Regions from separate parts of the Homo sapiens genome. Here all the other regions are linked to region 3. The links are contacts of gene promoters, found by promoter capture Hi-C in blood cells and fetal thymus (Javierre and others, 2016). All regions are on one chromosome and are shown on one strand. Each heading gives the region's core, a stretch centred on a gene start or on the middle of the fragment in contact. The rest is flanking DNA. Distances are from core to core; before and after follow the strand shown.

Region 1 (2,700 bases), core at 91-2,590, 100 kb after region 3:
CCCAAGTAGCTGGGATTACAGGCATGCGCCACCATGCCCTGCTAATTTTTGTATTTTTAGTAGAGACGGGGCTTCACCATGTTGGCCAGGCTGGTCTCAAACTCCTGACCTCAAGTGATCCTCCTACCTTGGCCTCCTAAAGTGCTAGGATTACAGGCGTGAGCCACTGCACCTGGCCTTTAGTGTTTTCTTTTGATGTAAAATTTGTAGACAATGAAGTGCACAAATCTTAAGTGTATATTCACTAAGTTTCAACTAATAGGTGCCCCTGTGTAATCCCAATGCCCATCAATATAGAAAACATTACCATCATTCCTAAAAATCCTCTCATGTCCCCCCATGGCTGGTTTGTCTCTGCCTCCATCCTCCCAGAGGTAACTTCTGCTCTGATTATTTTCAGATTAGTTTCACCTGTTCTAGAACTTCATAGAAGTGGAAGGCTTCTTTTACTCAGTGTAATGTTTTTAAGATACATCATGTTGTGGAGTATATCAGTAATTCAGTCCTTTTTATTGATGAGAATGACTCCATTGTATGACTATTCCACTGTATGTTTAGCCATTCTCCTATTGATGGACACCTGGACTGTTTCTAGTTTTTGGCAATTATCAATAAAGCTATTGATATTTTTGTGAACATATTATTTTCATTTCTCTTGGGCATATTCCTAGGAGTGGGATTGCTGGGTCAGAAAGTAGAAGAAACTGCCAGACCTTTTACCAAAGTGTTTGCACCATTTTACATTCCCACTAATTATATGTGAGGATTCCAGCTATACTACAACCCACTAATAGTCGATATTATCATGCTTTTGTATTTTTAGTCATTCTGGTGATGTGATGTTTGATTGTGTAATGAGATTTCTTTTCTTTTTCTTTCTTTTTTTTCTTTTCAGATAGAATCTCACTTTCACCCAGGCTGGGTCTCAGCTCACTGCAACCTCTGCCTACGAGGCTCAAACAATTCTCCCACCTCAGCCTCTTGAGTAGTTGGGACTATAGGTGCATATCAGCACGCCTGGCTAATTTTTGCATTTTTTGTAGAGATGGGGTTTCGCCAGGCTGCCCAGGCTGGTCTCAAACTCCTGGCCTCAAGTGATCCACCTGCCTTGGCCTCCCAAAGTGCGTGGATTACAGGCGTGAGCCACTGTGTCTGGCCCACATTGTTGATAAAACCTTCCTTTCCCTCACTGGATTGCTTTGGAACTTCTGTTGAAAATCAAGTGATGGTGTAAGTGTGGCTCTATTTCTAGGATTTCTTTTACATTCTAGGTTTAGCTGAGTTTTGCCATGAGCTCAGTGTTGTCAAATCTTCAATTTTTTTTTTTTTTTTTTTTTTTTTTAAGATGGAGTTTTGCTTTTGTCTCCCAGGCTGGAGTGCAATGGTATGATCTCGGCTCACTGCAACCTCTACCTCCCGGGTTCAAGTGATTCTCCCGCCTCAGCCTCCTGAGTAGCTGGGATTACAGGTGCATGCCACCATGTCCAGCAAATTTTCATATTTTTAGTGGAGACAGGGTTTCACCATGTTGGCCAGGCTCTTCTTGAACTCCTGACCTCAGGTGATCCACCCGCCTTGGCCTCCCAAAGAGCTGGGATTACAGGCATGAGCCATGGCGCCCAGCCCAGATCTTCAAAATTTTAAAGGAGAGTGTATAAATCCAGATGTTTTTAAATGTGAAAAAGCCTCAAGGTTTAAAAGTCAGAAACCAATTCTAATTTAAACAAACAAGGAAACCAATCCCAGGCAGTCAAAGAAACTCATCTGCAGGCTGAACTAGATGTGTGGCATTGGAACAGGGAGAGGTAGTTTCAGCAGGAGTCTGGATACATGTGTGTATATATATGTATATAAAATTATTTTTTGAGACAAGGTTTTGGTCTGTTGCCCAGGCTGGAGTGCAGTGGTGTGATCATGGCTCATTGCATCCTTGACCTCCTGGGCTTGAGCAATCCTCCCACCTCAGCCTCCTGAGTAGCTGGGACCACAGGTGTGTTCCACCACACCTGGCTAATTTTGAAAATTGCTTTGTAGAGGTATGAGGTTCCACTGTGTTGCCCAGGCTGGTCTTGAATGCCTGGGCTTAAACGATCCTCCTGCCTCGACCTCCTAAAGTGCTGGAATTACAGGGGTGAGCCACTGTGCCCAGCCTGGATATATGTATATTAAAGTATAAATCAAGGGTCTTATTTTAATTGAAAGATAATGGGAGTGTTCTCAGGGCAAGTAGGTGGGTTCCAGTGGTCAGTGAAAGTCAATAAGAATTCACTGCAAGGGTAAAATTAAAGCCTGTGGGTCAAGGTTTCCTTGGTGCCTAGGAAAGTGGAGGAGCACATTTGTGAAGCTATTAGAATTGCATTTAGAAACCGTAAGGACAGGAAGGGCTAAGGGGAGGCACTGAGTGGAGGCAGTTGACAAACCAGTGACAGGAAAGACACAGGGCCAAGAGAGCCCAAAGTGAGCTGATTTGGAGAATCTGGAGCAGAGGGAATAAAGAGAATCACAGGTCTCTAAACCCAGGGCCCAGAAAGATGCTCCCTGGAATTGGCTGGAGGCTTCCTTGGCTCTGTGGGTGGAAATTGAGACAGAGCAGCCAGAAGACATACAACTGCACATGCCAGAGCTTAGAGCAGTTTCTCAGCTGCACCACAGACCTCCTGCCACCATGGTTGAATTATGACTGTTTAACATTTTAAAATT
Region 2 (2,700 bases), core at 200-2,699, 75 kb after region 3:
CCCAGTTCACCAGAAACGGTCTGCACTTATTAACTGTGAAACCCAGATGTGAAGCCCCATGCTCATACATAGGGAAATGAGGCAAAGGGACTGGCCACAGGCCACCAAAAATTAGAACCCAAAATCCTTAGCTCATGTTTTAAATATTATACTAGAAAAGCAAAGCAGCTTTGGAGGAGCAGATTGTCTTCTACTGATTCTTGTGTTTGGCAGAGAGGCTGCCTTGGAAAGATGCCCTAAGCCCATCTTTTAAAAAGTCCAATCGTAAAGACAGGTTATCTAAGAACTTTATAGATTCTGGAGTCTTTGAAGTGTGTAACTGGGCCAGGGCTACCACAGAAGAAATCACAGACCTAGGGTCTTGATGTAAGAATTTACAAGATAACCAGATAAAGGCTAGTGGGTGAGGAGAGAGCATTAGAACCTCAAAGGAGAGATAAGGAAGGGGTGTGGAGCGAGGGACAATTGGCTTTGCTTTAAAAATATGTAACAAAATGGCCCAGTGTCTCTCACAGAAGGGTTCGGGGAAGGGAAACCAGAGATCGCGTTTTTCCGGCTCTAAGACTGGGTCGGCTTTTAGTCTTCTCTTCTGCTCCTTTTAAAGGAGATGGGGGTGGGGAACGAGAATGCTGGTGGCGATGTGGGCCTGCATCTCCTTCCCTCCTCCAGTCCTGGGAATTCCTGAAAACTCCTTCCAACCCAATTCCAAACAGGCTCTCTCTGGGTTCAGAACAATGCCGGGGAATTTCACGCAGGGAAGGGGTCCCCTTCTCGCCCCAGAGGGCAGGGGGCTACTCCGGAGCGAGTTCCGGCTCCAGGGTCCCCCACGTCCCACAGGTCTCCTGCCCTTTGGCACGCACAGCCCTCACCACTCGCTGCTTCCGCATCCCTCCTCTGAGCCTCTCCCCACGCATCTCTGCCCCTCGCCCGGCCGCGCCCAATCGCCTCCCACGTCTACCCCGCTGGGGCAGCCCCTACACCCTGCCAGGCACCCCATTTCTCTCCTCCAGGTCTGGGGGACTGGACAACATTGGGGATTAGCTGGGGTCAACTCTGCTTCCCCCGCCACCCCCGGCCCCGGGCGCGCGCTCACCCGGCGGCCGCGTTCTCGAACTTGAGCGCGAGCGTCTCCTCGATGATGCGGTTGTTCACCTCCAGCAGGATCATGGCGGCGGCTGCCCCCAGGGGAAGGAGAAACAAGGGCCGGTGAGGGTGGGTAAGGGAGGCAAGGACGGAGGGAGCGGCCCTGCTGCCCCCTGAGTGGGGCTGGGTGGGGTAGGAGGTTAGGGGAGAAGGGGAGAGGGGCCGGGGTGGAGGGAAGGGTAAGACGAACGCGCTGGCCCACGCACGCAGACTGTGGAGACACCCACCCACCCAACCGACCTGGCCCCCGAAGCCTGAACCCGCCTGCCGAGCCGCCGCCGCCGCCGCCACTGCCGCTTCACCGACAAGCCCGGTCCCCGCCCAGCCCCCGGCTCTAGCCGGCCACTTCCGCTCTCACACCCACTTCCGCTCGCCGCCTGGACGCGCGGCCCCGCGGCGCCATTTCCGCTTCAACCACTCGTGAACGCGAGCGCAGGCGCGCCGGAGGAAACGGAGGCTGCGCTTGCGTATGTGTGATGCCGCCGCCCCACCGTCTACTTTCCCACCGACCCCGCTTACGTCTACCGCCTACCAGTGCGTCCCCCGCGGAGCTGTCATTCCCCGAGGCTTGCCTGACTGTTCAGCTTCTCTCTCCCGCTTGTCCCAGAGATCCAACTCCATTCTTCCGGTCTTGTCATTTCAGAAACCTCGCAAGAAGCTCGCCCTTGTCGTCTCCCAGCGGGCTTCTTAGCTCCCAGCTTGTTTGATGGGGGTGCCTCTTTTTCTTTCCAGGTATAGCTGTCCAGCGACACCATCATGCATTCATTTCTCCAACAAACATTTTCATGGGCTCTTGCTCTATACTGGGGATGTAGTGGTAAATGAAATGGACGAGGCCCTGCCCTCGTGGAACTTACAGTCTGGCAAAGGAAACAGACAATAAAATTCTCAGTTGTCTAAGGAGGCAGAGATGCATGGGGAGAGGATCAGAGTAGGGATGCGGAAGCAGCGAGTGGTCAGGAGTGTGCGTGCCAAAAGGCAGGAGACCTGTGGGACGTGGGGGCAGCTGGGGCCGGAACTTGCGCTGGAGGAACACCCCTTGCCTGCTGGGGCGAGAAGAGGACCCTTTCCTTGGGTGAAATTCCCCATATTGTTAAAAGGACAATTAAAGAAATGAAAGAGAGGTCACCTGGGTGAATAGGCAACTTAGATGGGCCTCCCTGTGTTCCTGTCATGCCTCCAATTCTGCGTCCAGGTGTCCGGAACACATTTTTTTCTGCCTTTGAAACCTTCCAGTACCTCTGGCAGAGATATACCATACCCTCCTTGTTACCTGCGTGCGGAATCTTAACTCATCGTTGTGCTACATCTGCACCTTCTGCCTTTGTGCCTTGTTTTGTGTTTTCCCTCCTCCGGGGAGAATATAATAAACTTAGCTGAGTCCGTTCTACATACAAGGAAATAATTTATTTTCTGCTATGTGTTTGGGGATGGGGATAAAAAAATGAACAAGAAACTAGCTCCTATCATTAAGGCACAGATAGCCCTTTGAAACATTACTTAACGGGCTATGGATAAGCTTCAGGATATTGCTGATCCCCTAAAATTATACGCTAA
Region 3 (2,700 bases), core at 22-2,521:
AAACAAACAAGCAAACAAACAAAATTAGCTGGGTGTAGTGGCACACACTTGTAATCCCAGCTACTCAGGAGGCTGAGGCCGGAGAATCACTTGAAACCAGGAGGAGGATGCAGTGAGCCGAGATGGCGCCACTGCACTCCAGCCTGGGTGACAGAGCGAGACCCTGTCTGGAAAAAAAAAAAAAAAAAAAAAAGGACATTCAGTGGTGGTGTGGTGCTGACCTATAGCTATTAACATGAGATAAGCACTTTAAACAGAGTTGGTCAACTACTGGCAGCCTTGGTGTCATGGAAAGAACTTGGACTTTGGAACCACAGAAACTCAGGCAAGGCTCGGTAATGTTTCTCTTTTTAAATTGAGACAAGGTCTCTCTATGTTGCCTAGGCTGGGTCTCCAACTCCTGGGCTCAAGCCATCCTCTGGCCTTGGCCTCCCAAAAGTGCTAGGATCGCAGGTGTGAGTCACCATGCCCAGGCTCCAGTAATATTTCAGAACTTCCTCAAAACTGTTTCCTCCTTTGCTACTGCATTCTTCACTGAGATGAGGGTTAAGACCTACCTAACAGTAGTAATCTACATCTCAATGTAGGACTTCTGAATTCTGACTTGAGGAAAGCACCTGCTTTCCTGGTTGAGTAATTATAAACAGAGATTCTAGGTTTGCATGTTTGCAGTTTTAAACTCGAAAAGTGCATTTATCTCAAAAACACAGAATTATCAAGGATTTTAATTACTGATTTATTTGTAATGTAAAAATGGGAAACAAACGGCCTCCAGTAGGAAATTAATTTAATCCGCATAGCCATGCAATGGAATACTTCACGGCATTAAGATTGTGCTTTTGAAGACTATTTAGTGAGAAGAAAAATGTTCATCATAAAACAGTAAAAAGAAGGGCAGTAAACAAAACACCATACAATATACCCCACTGTAGAAAAACAAAATACATACAGAAATGTAATAGCCAAAGAAGGACCCAAAGCGAACGCTTCCCCCTGGGAACTAGGAGGGGTGGAGAGAAATTACTTTCTTCCCTGCATTTCTGTGTCTTTTCTAGCTTCCTATCAGTATCATGTATTGCCTTTAAATCCGAAAATACCCCTGTGTTATTAGTGAGGCGTCGTCGGGGCTCTGAGAGGCGCGCGCGCCCGGGACAGACCCCTGCGCCCCCTGGCGGCGCCCTGAGGCCCCGCCCCACGAGGCCGGCGCGACGGGGCGGGGCGCGGAGCCCCAGCCGAGCCTAGCCCTGCCCGGCCCCGGAGGACTTGCAACACTCCGAGGCCAGGAACGCTCCGTCTGGAACGGCGCAGGCAAGCCAGGGGGCCGGGGCCGGCGCCGTTGGGGACTGTGGGCGGTGGGGACTGGTCCAGGGCTGGGGCGGCCATGCGCCGGGGCGCCTAAACTTTTCGGAGCGCGCTCCCGGCTTGCCCGCTCCTGGGCCCAAGGAGCCCGTTCCAGATGGGGATCTCCCCTCCTGGCCCTTGGCGTTTCGCTCTCCCTGGGCGCGCGGGTGGGCGGCCGGGTCTGTGGCACCTGGTTAGCCTTGGGAGCCCAGCAGCGTGTTGTGGGCACTGGTGAGCGGAGCCAGGGTCTGGGGGTGTCCTCGTGTTCCCTCTTTCGGGCACGAGTGGCCTCTCTGTCGCAGGGCCTATCCACCATGCCAGCCCGAGTGGCCAGCTGTGTGGGATGAGGGCTTTCATGGCCCTCAGCTGGTGAGAAGAGGGAAGAGGGAGGGGAGACAGCCAGGGCCTGGCACGGACCCCAGGTTGCCCCCACACGCGCTGAGGCCAGTCTCGGTGTAGACAGGTGAATATTTAAGGGGTGGGGAAGGGGGGGTCCTAGCTTGCAGCTGGGGCAGAAGCCAATGAGCAGCTCAAGTGTTTGGCATGGGGAAGTGGCCACCTCTATCACCATGACTTTGCCCTCTGCCAGTCCCACTTCCAGCCACTGTTTCCCGGCTGGGTTCACAGAACTACAGGGGAGTAACATCCTCCTCGTGACTTCTTTGGGTTAGAGTGAAAACAAAACAGAGAAACGGGAAAAGGGAAAGCAAGTGGAGAGACTGGGGCAGGAGCCAGGGACCAGTGGGAGGAAGCAGAGGGAGGCTGCTGGGAGGCCAGGCCCTGGCCTTGTGGGGTCGGCACCAATTCTTGTCCTATGGGGTCTCCATCTCCTCTCCCTCCTCTGTGGCCTCTACGTGGTACCCAGGAGTTTGGGGTTCTACCTGAGCACCCTGGACATGGGATAAGTAGGCCTGGGAACGCAGGTCAGAGCCAGATGTCATGGAAGGGCCCTCAGGTGTCCAGTTCTCTGGGCTCTGAAATATTCATCTCATTAGTGAGCTTTGGTTTCCAAGCTGGCGACTTTGGGCTGGCCAGTGGTGGCAGGGGAGCCAGGTGCCTCCTGGGGCTGCTTTATTGGCGCAAAGGGGGAGCCATACTTCCTTCTCACCTGCCTCCTCTCTCTGTCTCTCCAGTCATGAGGATCCAGAGAACCAGTTTATAGCTTAAATGGAAGAGGCAGGACCACAGTGTCAGGGGCCCTGTCTTTCTGTGCTATGACCTCAAGGCCTCACTTGTAAAAATGAGCCCTTCAGAGAGGTAATGATGGGTTATCCTGTAAGTGTTGGGAGAGCCTCATGTCATGAGCTGGGGTAATAGCCACCTGGGCTCAGCCTCCTCCCCTGGGAATGGGTGCCTCAG
Region 4 (2,700 bases), core at 4-2,503, 100 kb before region 3:
CCAGCCTGGCCAGCATGGCAAACCCCGTCTCTGCTGAAAATACACAAATTAGCTGGGCGTGGTGGCGCGCGCCACTCCCGGGGCTGAATAAAGAGAATCGCTTGAACCCAGAAGGTGGAGGTTGCAATGAGTTAAGATTGCGCCACTGCACTCCAGCCTTGGCAACAGAGGGAGACCCTTTCCCTGTCTCAAATAAATAAATAAATAGATAGATAGATAATTTAACATTCATCAGACACTATTTCAAGCTCCAGTTTGGAGCCTGTGTCCCGCCCAAGTCCTCAAGCCCTCACCCCACCCACCCTTGGGCTGTCAGGTCACGCCTGCAGGTGCTCAATAAATACCTTTTGAAATGTTTTTCGTTTGTTTGTTTTTGTCCCAAGTGCCAGACACTGTGTTAAAGTGCTTAACCTCCATGGCAAGGGTGGTGGTGTCTCCATTTTACAGATGAGGACACTGAGACCCAGAGGGTAATCACATGGCTGCGCTAGGAAACAGCAGGTCCCTAAAGCCCCCAGGTTGGCTGGTCTCAGGAACTGTCCCACTCTATCCTGCTGCCTGCACGCGCCCCCTCCACATCCAGCAGGCCAGTCACGTCATACATGCCACTCCCAGCCAGGCCCTGGTGTGGGCCTAGCCAGAGGTCTCCCCTTTCTGGTCCTCTTCAAGGAGCCCATACAGGAAGTGGTGGTGGGAGCTGTGGGCCAGAAAGGTGGCTCCGTGGGCAAGGCAACAGGTCCAGACCTGGGGGAGGGGCAACCATGAATTGGGGAGATGCCAAGACCTCTGGGGAAGCCCCATTGTGTCCCCCCAAACCCTCCCCATTGGTTGCCTCTTGTCCTTCCCTCATCCATTCCCAAGGCATCCCCTGGCCCTACTGTACCAGGTAGGTGCTGAGGCCCAGGTAGGCTGCGGCCAGCAAGGCTGCAAGGCCGAAGTAGGCAGGGTGGGGCAGGCTGGGCAGATAGCTGACCACGAAGTAGAGGTTGATGGCGCAGACTAGCACCATGATGGAAGAGGTGACGACCTTGTTCAGCCTGGGGGACACGAGAGAGGCTCAGGACTGGCTGGTTGCTGCTGGCCCACCTGCATCAACTCCTCTTCATCTCCCAGCGCCCACACTGGGGGTGGGGATACACTGAGGCCGCTTCTCTGGTCTGTGGGACCTGGAGCAGACAGACCCCCTCCCCACCTCCTGCCTCCTGGGCCCTCCAGGCTACACACTGGCGGGATTTGGCAAGAGCTGAGTCTGAGGCGAGAGTGAGGCGCTCAGGCTCTAGAAACAGCCCTCTTCCCTGGATTCCAGTCTTGGCTCCTCAACTTGCTAGCTGTGTGAACCTGGGTAAGTCCCTTAACCTCTCTCAGCCTCTGTGGCTTCATTGGGATAATGGGGAGAATTGTAGCTCGTACCTCTGGGTGGCTGTGAGGATGAAATGTGGTGATGCAATCCAGCACTTGGGAAAGGGGGTACTCACAGGCCATTGGCAAACTCCTGCATGAGGGTGGGCATGCTGGTGAACGTGAGGATGGGCAGCACGGCGAACGGGAGCTGGGGAGAGCAGCAGGAGCCTAGGCTGAGGAATTCTGCCTCAGAATATGGCAAGGGTGGGGGCAAGATGGGCGTGGCTTGACACCCTCTGTGTGGGTGTGAGCTCAACTGCCCTAACCACACTGAGCCTACTTCCCCGTCTCCTGCCTTATCAGGTTGTGGGCTCCAAAGCAGGAGAAAGTGTTTGGGGGCTCTGGCACCAGGTTGCTTCGGTTTGAATCCAAGCCCTGCCACTAGTAACTTAACTGAGTGCATCAGTTTTCCCATCTGTAAAATGGAATAATGAGCCTGGGCAACAAACATAATGAGCTTTTGTCTCTACTTAAAAAAAAAAAAAAATTAGACCTGCCTCAGTGGCTCATGCCTGTAATCCTTGCACTTTGGGAGGCCAAGGCGGGTGGATCACCTGAGGTCAGGAGTTTGAGACTAGCCTGGCCAACATGATGAAACCCTGTCTCTACTAAAAATACAAAAAATTAGCTGGGTGTGATGGTGGGCGCTTGTAATCTCAGCTACTTAGGAGGCTGAGGCAGAAGAATCGCTTGAACCTGGGAGGCAGAGGTTGCAGTGAGCCAAGATCTCACCACTGCACTCTAGCCTGGGTAACAAGAGTGAAACTCCGTCTCAAAAAAAAAAAAAAAAAAATTAGCTGGGTGTGATGGCATGCACCTATAGTCCCTGCTACTCGGGAGCCTGAGGTGGGAAGATTGCTAGAGACAGGGAGGGCAGGCTGCAGTGAGCCATGATTGAACCACTGCACTCCAGCCTAGGTGACAGAGGGAGACCATCTGGGGGGTGGGAGGGGGGAAGGATAATGGTGATTCCTACCCTCCTGCCCCCCAGGGTGGCTGTGGGGACAATGGAAGCCTTGTAGGCAAGATGTGCCTGGGACAGGGCCTGGCAGGCCCATGCAAGGCTCAGCGTGGGGGTTGCTGGAGGTCCTGTTTCGCTCAGCAGTGGGCAGGGCTGGTGGGGTTGGCGCATCTCACCAGCAGGCTCTGCAGCACGTTGAGCAGATCATTGAGGCCCGACAAGTCCCTCAGGTCCCGGAAGACAGCCACGAGCACGGTGGGCAGGATGGCGCAGGAGCGGGTGAGGAGGACACGGGCGAAGCGTGACCACCGCAGCCTCAGGAAGCCCTGGGGTGGGGG

The links. Contacts are between HindIII fragments. The CHiCAGO score rates a contact against its expected background, and 5 or more counts as called.
Region 1: a fragment that was not itself captured here is called in contact with the fragment with the promoter of TMBIM1 in region 3 in 1 of 17 cell types (M2 macrophages); the score reaches 5.2 in M2 macrophages.
Region 2: a contact is called between the fragment with the promoter of ARPC2 here and the fragment with the promoter of TMBIM1 in region 3, in 3 of 17 cell types (naive CD4 T cells, naive CD8 T cells and non-activated CD4 T cells). The highest score is 5.9, in naive CD4 T cells.
Region 4: a fragment that was not itself captured here is called in contact with the fragment with the promoter of TMBIM1 in region 3 in 11 of 17 cell types (erythroblasts, total CD8 T cells, monocytes and 8 more); the score reaches 7.5 in erythroblasts.

What each region holds. Positions count from the first base shown.
Region 1 is chr2:218,187,729-218,190,428 of GRCh38, reverse strand. No RefSeq gene overlaps it. Among named protein-coding and RNA genes, the nearest start is that of CXCR1, 22 kb to the right of the region's middle. The HindIII fragment of the contact is 6,006 bases long and covers 1-2,700 here.
Region 2 is chr2:218,215,938-218,218,637 of GRCh38, reverse strand. ARPC2 (actin related protein 2/3 complex subunit 2) reads right to left here and starts at 1,449. Exons shown (of 11, transcript NM_152862.3): 1 at 1,384-1,449; 2 at 1,094-1,175. The coding sequence starts at 1,167. It overlaps LOC101928487 (a long non-coding RNA gene), which reads left to right and starts at 1,452. Exons shown (of 2, transcript XR_923908.2): 1 at 1,452-1,610; 2 at 1,787-2,537. RefSeq lists a silencer at 1,266-1,315 and an enhancer at 837-1,440. The HindIII fragment of the contact is 6,430 bases long and covers 1-2,664 here.
Region 3 is chr2:218,291,074-218,293,773 of GRCh38, reverse strand. It overlaps TMBIM1 (transmembrane BAX inhibitor motif containing 1), which reads left to right and starts at 1,271. Exons shown (of 12, transcript NM_022152.6): 1 at 1,271-1,308. All of the region lies in intron 2 of PNKD (PNKD metallo-beta-lactamase domain containing), which reads right to left. RefSeq lists enhancers at 1-593, 776-1,738, 1,739-2,700 and a silencer at 1,014-1,493. The HindIII fragment of the contact is 24,107 bases long and covers 1-2,700 here.
Region 4 is chr2:218,392,969-218,395,668 of GRCh38, reverse strand. SLC11A1 (solute carrier family 11 member 1) reads right to left here. Exons shown (of 15, transcript NM_000578.4): 12 at 2,539-2,688; 13 at 1,476-1,549; 14 at 884-1,037; 15 at 1-744. The coding sequence ends at 634. Among named protein-coding and RNA genes, the nearest start is that of CTDSP1, 5.5 kb to the left of the region's middle. RefSeq lists enhancers at 413-1,081, 1,082-1,750, 2,420-2,700. The HindIII fragment of the contact is 5,382 bases long and covers 1-2,700 here.